2 separate regions of the Homo sapiens genome follow, and region 1 is linked to region 2. The links are contacts of gene promoters, found by promoter capture Hi-C in human tissues and cell types (Jung and others, 2019). All regions are on one chromosome and are shown on one strand. The core of a region is centred on a gene start or on the middle of the fragment in contact, and the rest is flanking DNA. Distances in the headings are between cores, read along the strand shown.

Region 1 (3,296 bases), core at 739-3,238, 56 kb before region 2:
ATGAAATGGAGGCCCAGTAATCCATTTAATGCTCACGCCGGCCCCGTGATAATATTAGGTTGGTGCAAAAGTAATTGCACGAAAAAAATTAAATGGCAAAAACCACAATTAACTTTTTTTTTTCCGACAGAATCTCACTCTTTCCCCTAGGCTGGAGTGCAGTGGTGCCATCTCGGCTCACTGCCACCTCCACCTCCTGGGTTCAAGTGATTCTCCTACCTCAGCCTCCCGAGTAGCTGGGGATACGTACAGCCACTTGCTACCATGCCCAACTAATTTTCGTATTTTTTTTTTGAGACAGAGTCTCGCTCTGTCCCCCAGGCTGGAGTGCAGTGGCGCGATCTCGGCTCACTGAAAGCGCCGCCTCCCGGGTTCACGCCATTCTCCTGCCTCAGCCTCCTGGGTAGCTGGGACTACAGGCGCCTGCCACCACATCCGGCTAATTTTTTTGTATTTTTAGTAGAGATGGGGTTTCACTGTATTAGCCAGGATGGTCTCGATCTCCTGACCTCGTGATCCTCCTGCCTCGGCCTCCCAAAGTGCTGGGATTACAGGCATGAGCCACCGCACCCAGCCTAATTTTCGTATTTTTAGTAGAGACAGAGTTTCACCATGTTGGCCAGGCTGGTCTCATACTCCTGACCTCAAACAATCCACCGTGTCCCAACGTGAGGGGGACTGCAGGCTGGCGGGGGAGCTGGGGACACTGCAGCCCAGGACCAACCTATCCCGTGCCTGGTGGGGGCTCCTGCAGGAGGGGACCCACCCACCCTGGCCCCAATATACATTTTAATAGTTATTATAACAATATGTTTAAAACGAGGCAGGGCATGGCGGCTCACACCTGCAATCCCAGCACTTTGGGAGGCAGAGGCGGGTGGATCATTTGAAGTCAGGAGTTCGAGACCAGCCTGGCCAACATGGTGAAATCCAGTCTCTACTAAAAATGCAAAAATTAGCCAGGTGTGGTGGTGGGCGCCTGTGATCCCAGCTACTCGGGAAGCTGAGGCAGGAGAATCGCTTGAGCCCGGGAGGTGGAGGTTGCAGTGAGCCGAGATTGCACCGTTGCACTCCAGCCTGGGGAACCGAGACTGCCTCAAAAAAAAAAAAGAACATAGTGACAGTTACAGTAACAGAATATGTACTTGTTGCGCCTGTTGCTTCTTCTGTGCTTCTTTTGCCTCCCTGCCTTATCCTCCTGTTTTCCCTTTGTTGCCCTTTAAATCCAGCCCCTGCTGAGACTCCCCCTCCTGCAGGAGCCACGGCGCCCCCAGCTCCCCCACCAGCCTGGAGTCCCCCTCATGTCGGGATACGGTGTCCAGAAAGAAGGGGCCCGACAGGTGAGCTCACCTGTGGCTGAAGCAGTGGGCGGCCGAGACCACCCAGCGGGCTCGCAGCAGGAAGCCTCCGCAGTGATGTTGGCCCCCGAAGCGCACGGATGCCATGTAGGGCCTGGAGTGGGGGGTCACCTCGTGGCCCCCGATGATCTGGGCCCCCCAGGAGCCTGCTGGAGGGACGGCCTGAGTCAGGGACGAGGCGGGAGGAACGGATGACGGGGCTGGGGTCAGGGCAGGGGGAGAAGTAGCGGCCAAGACAGAGACAGGGGGTGAGATTAGAGACGGAGAGACCCAGAGAGCTGGAGACAGAGCCCAGACAAGCCCCCCAGATGCGCTGGGAGGGGCTCCCGAGCCCGGGAGATCCAGGGCTGGGCTGGGCAGAGACCCCGGCCGGATTTCCATCCATTTCCAGCAGAGGCAGCCACGGGGGCTCGGCAGATGGAGCAGGTGGAGCTCTCCCCAGGGTTCTCCCGGGACTGGGGGTTCCCGGGTGTGGCCCCCGTACGGGGACTTGGCGGGGGCCTGGGTGGGGATCCCGGGGGGCTCCTCACCGGGGGGCTTCACGGGCAGCATCAGGGCGGTGGCCACAGTCAGCAGAGGACGTCCCCAGCCCCTCAACCCGAGCCCCATGGCAGACGCAGGCTGGCGTCTCCCCGCAGAGGTCTTCGGGCCGTGGCTCCCACCCTCAGCCAACGGCCGGAAAGGGGGAGCCTGGCTGTGGCCTGTGGTCGGGAGGCCCCACCAGCAACGCCTGGAGCCCAGGCGGGCGTTTCTGAGAAATCGATGGTCTCAGGTGGTGGCTGGTAATAATCATGTTGATAATAATCATTGTCCCCTAGTCCGGAAACAGGGAGAGGAGGAGACAGCTCTGGGGCTGCAAGTGACCTCGGGAAGGCAATTGACCCTTCTGTGCCTCAGTTTACCCAGCCTCCACGTGGCCCAGCATGTGTGGGGAGCTTTCCGAGGAACCGAGGTCACAGCGGCACTCGAGACCCGCAGCTCGCCTCCGGCCCCCACCCCGCAAACCCCAGTCTTCCCATCTCCAAACCCAGGGCCGACCTCAGGGCTGTGGGGACAGCGAGGAAGGCCGGTCTCCTGGGAAGCTCTGATGATTTCTGCCTTTATTTTATTTTATTTTTATAGGTGGGGTTTTGCTATGTTGCCCAGGCTGGTCTCGAACTCCTGGGCTCCAGCGATCCTCCCTCCTCGGCCTTCCAAAGTGCTGAGATCACAGAAGACAGCCACTGCACCTGGCAGATTTCTGCCTTTATTCAGCAGTTATTGAGTGCCTAGTGTATACCAGACCTCATGCTAGGAGGTGAGGATGAGGCAGTGACCGCACCCCAGCCTGTAGCACTGACGTTCTGTGGGATCCGGAGTCCAGTGGGACATGGCTGTACATGGGGGTCTTCACCTTTTTTTTCTTTTCTTTTTTTTTTTGAGATGGAGTCTTGCTCTTGTTGCCCAGGCTAGAGTGGAATGGCACCATCTCGGCTCACCGCAACCTCTACCTCCCGGGTTCGAGTGATTCTCGTTCCTCAGCCTCCCGAGTAACTGGAACTACAGGCGCCCGCCACCACAGCCGGCTAATTTTGTTTCTGTATTTTTAGTAGAGACGGGGTTTCACCATATTAGCCAGGATGGTCTCGATCTCCTGACCTCATGATCCGCCCGCCTCGGCCTCCCAAAGTGCTGGGATTACAGGCATGAGCCACGGTGCCCGGCCTTTTTTTTTTTTTTTTTTTTTTTGAGAAGGAATCTTGCTCTTGTTGCCCAGGCTAGAGTGCAGTGGCGCGATCTTGGCTCACCGCAACCTCTGTCTCCTGAGTTCAAGGGATTCTCCTTCCTCAGCCTCCTGAGTAACTGGGATTACAGGTGCCCACCACCACGCCCCGCTAAATTTGTGTGTTTAGTAGAGACGGAGTTTCTCCATGTTGGTCAGGCTGGTCTCGAACTCCC
Region 2 (3,622 bases), core at 150-2,649:
CCAGCTACTAGGGAAGCTGAGGCAGGAGAATTGCTTGAACAGGGGAGGTTGCCGTGAGCCGAGATCGTGCCACTGCACTCCAGCCTGGGTGACAAGAGCGAGACTCCGTCTCAAAAAAAAAACACAAAAAAAGCACCCCCCTCCTGAGCAGCCCTGCTGGATTCGTAGCTGGGGGCCTTTTTACTCGAAGAAGAGACTGAGGTTCAGAGGGGCTCCACAAGCAGCCCCTCTGGCGTAGGTCAGGACAGAGCCCCAGCCTGGGGAACTGAAGTCCCTGCCCCCTCAGCTGTGTTCCCTGCCCTCATAGACGGCGCTAGGCCCAGTGGCCCGACTTCCCCACAGATGCTGGGCTCCCCACAGTCCCAGCAAGGCCTCTGCACCTTGACTAAGAATCCAGGAGGACCATGGGCGCCTGAGGGCCTCTGCGTCCCCATCTCTCGGGGTGGCCTGGGTCTTTTGACGGCCTCGTGCGGTTCTTTTTTTTTTTTTTTTTTTTTTTTTTTTGAGTTGGAGTTTTGCTCTTGTCGCCCAGGCTGGAGTGCAGTGGTGTGATCTCGGCTCACTGCAACCTCCAACTCCTGGGTTCAAGTGATTCTTCTGCCTCAGCCTCCCAAGTAGCTGGGATTATAATAGCGTGCCACCATACCCCGCTAAATTTTGTATTTTTAGTAGAGACGGGGTTTCGCCATGTTGGCCAGGCTGGTCTCGAACTCCTGGCCTCAAGTGATCCGCCCGCCTCGGCCTCCCAAAGTGCTGGGATTACAGGTGTGAGCCACCAAGTCCGGCCCCCTCGTATGGGTTTTTATGTGGATGGGGCCTAGGGAATTCCTCCCAGCAGCCCTGAGGGAGCCCGGGCGTGATGTTCCCCCACGTCCCGGAGGAGAAAACAGGGCTAAGAGAGGTCAGGTGGGATCAGAACCCAGGCCACACCAAACCCCCCCGAGTCTGCCAAACCTGGTTTATGCAAGAAGGGGGCCATCTAGGGGAGTTGCCCCAAGGGGTGGGCTGGGCCAGAAGGCACGGACGGGATTGGGACTCAGCCCCTCCGGCCCCCCAGGAGACACAGGCCACTGTGCACGCTGAGCTGCTGTGTGGCCCTGGACACCTGCTGACCCTCTCTGAGCGGTGCTGAGAGGCGGTGGGAGGGCCAGGCAGCCAAGGGAGGTTTCGGCTGAGTTCTGGCTCCTCGGGGCCACCTGGAGGCCCTGGGGGTGGAGGGGCAGCCGGCAGCGGGCACGGTGCCCGCCCTTGCCCAGCCTGGTATCCTCTTTCTCCCTCCTCCTCCTCTGGACTTTGTTTCCTGATCCCAGGTGGGGCTGGGGGGAGGGGGCACACCTGCCTCCCCTGGGTGGGGCCTCTGTTCCCTGGCAACCTGGCGGGCAGGGCGGAGCTGGGAGGCCTCTGTGCCCATCGAGGAGTCAGAGTGGAGGCTGCAGACTGTGGAGCCGGGAGCCGGCAGGTGAGGCTGGGGGCGCCCCGGGCCGGGCCGGGCGGGGATCCTGTGTGGGGCGGTTGGATCCACATTTGGCGTGGGAGCGTCATGTGTCTGTGGGCGGGGTCTGCTTGCCTGGCGGCACTTGGGATCCAGGGAGGCCCCCTGCCCCACCCCGTCACCCTCGGAGCCTCCCTGAGGCACCTTTCCCTCTGCCCCCGCTAGGTACTCTGGGGCCTCAAGGGCACCCACTGGGAGAGCAGAGAGGCCCTTGTCCCTGAACTCTGCTGGGGCTTTTGAACCCCAAATCCCAGAGCCCTCCAAGGGAGGGGCCGGGTTGGCACCCCCATGGTCAGAGGCCAGAGGGGCCCCTCCATGGTTCTGGGAATTCCAGAGGCTTCTGGAGAGATGCTTATCCGTCCCACCAGGCCCCTGACTGGGAGGCTCTGGGCAGTAAACACCCCCGTGGGGCTGGGGGCTGGTTTGGGGACACGGAGGAGGGGTGGCTGAGTACAGGCGGAAGGAGTCTCAGGCCGGGGCTGGGGACTTGGCCTGGGTCCTCGGGTGGGGGTGAGGTGGTAGCCTGGGATCCCGGGCAGCCAGCAGGGACTCGGCCCAGCGTCTGCCGGTGGAGCTCCGCCCAGGAGCCCAAGGAGCTGAGATGACTCAAGGGTGACTGCAACCCTGAGGGATGGGAAAAAGGAACGGGGCCCTCCCTTCTGCATGGCCTCCTTGTCTGAGTCTCGGCCCCACAAGGGAACCTTTGCCCCTCACATAGAGCCAACTGGCTGATGAGGAAGGAGGTGTGGCACCAGGGTCCATAAACCCAGTTTCATTCTGGTATCAACAGAGTTCAGGGTGAGGCTGGGAGGAGCAACCCAGGGGGCTTCCTGTAGGAGGGGGTGATTTGGAGCAAAGTCTGAAAACTGGCTTCAGACACTTGCTCTGTCATCGCTGTGTGACCTCAGATGAGCAGGTTCTCCTCTCTGGGTCCCAGCTCCCTCTCTCGAAAACCGGAGTCGAAAACGGTTCCAAGGTGTTGCAGGAAGAGTCTCAGGACGCCGAGGTCCTTAGCCACCGCCGGGCCTTGCAGGGGCCATCTTCCGTCCTGGGGCTCTTCCCCCGAGGGCAGCGCCGCTGCCCAAGAATGCCGGCCATGAGAGCCGCCGTGGATCCAGGGGTTTTTTTGGCCGACACAGTGAAACCCCATCTCTACTAAAAATACAAAACTTAGCCGGGCGTGGTGGCGGGCGCCTGTAGTCCCAGCTACTTGGGAGGCTGAGGCAGGAGAATGGTGTGAATCCGGGAGGCAGAGGTTGCAGTGAATGGAGATCGCGCCACTGCACTCCAGCCTGGGCGACAGAGGGAGACTCTATCTCAAAAAAAAAAGCGGGGGGCGGGGGTGGGCACTGAGGCACAGGCAGCAGGGGAGGGGGCCCAGTGGCCTTGAACCCAAGAGCTGGACCCCAGGCCCCACCCGCTGGCTTCAGTGAATCACTGGGGAGGAATGAGCAGAGGAGGATGCGTGCCTTCATCCCCACCCAACCCCGACCCCACTGGGAGACCCGGCACCTGCTCGAGGCTGGGCGGACAGCTCCCTTTCTCCCGGAGTTGACGTCTGATGTGGGTTATAAATCCCGCTGTGTAAACGTCTGTCCACTCACTGGGCAAACATTCCTACACCCGCCCTCCCCGGGGAGCTCCAGGGTGCAGGGCGTGGACCTGCCCAGCCCTTCAGGGCCAGAAGGCACGGTGGAGCCGGTCTGCATTCCGCAATGAGCCCGACCCCCACGTCTGAGCAGCTGGGATGAGTGGTGTTTGCCCAGCCAGTATTTATTAGGCGCCTGCTGTATACCAGACTCTGGGCTGCAGGAAGGGTGCTGACCTGTGGCCACAGCAGGCGAGAGCGAGGCCTGGGCTGACGGTTTCGGGTGGGAGAAGGCAAGGCCTTCCGTGAGCTGGGCAGGCGGCGTCCACGGAGGAGGAGGCCTCGGGTCAGGGGAGCCATCTGTGCGTCACGCTTTGGGAGGAAGCTCAGCTGTTTGTGTGGGATTTATTCACCAATGCCGCCTGGTTTTCAATGTTTCCCCTATTTTAGTTTCTGACATTTGATACGCGCGGAAGATTGCATGACACATTGCGTGTAGTTTCAACACGGCTCCCCACGGTCTCTCCACTTTATGCTGTTTG

What was found. The method cuts DNA at HindIII sites, captures the fragments that hold promoters and counts their contacts. A contact is called where the count stands out against the background at its distance.
Region 1: the fragment with the promoter of PRSS57 here is called in contact with the fragment with the promoter of MISP in region 2 in 1 of the 25 tissues and cell types used here (dorsolateral prefrontal cortex).

Annotation. Positions count from the first base shown.
Region 1 is chr19:693,464-696,759 of GRCh38, forward strand. PRSS57 (serine protease 57) reads right to left here and starts at 1,989. Exons shown (of 5, transcript NM_001308209.2): 1 at 1,889-1,989; 2 at 1,351-1,504. The coding sequence starts at 1,967. The HindIII fragment of the contact is 19,970 bases long and covers 1-3,296 here.
Region 2 is chr19:749,713-753,334 of GRCh38, forward strand. MISP (mitotic spindle positioning) reads left to right here and starts at 1,400. Exons shown (of 5, transcript NM_173481.4): 1 at 1,400-1,459. The HindIII fragment of the contact is 28,409 bases long and covers 1-3,622 here.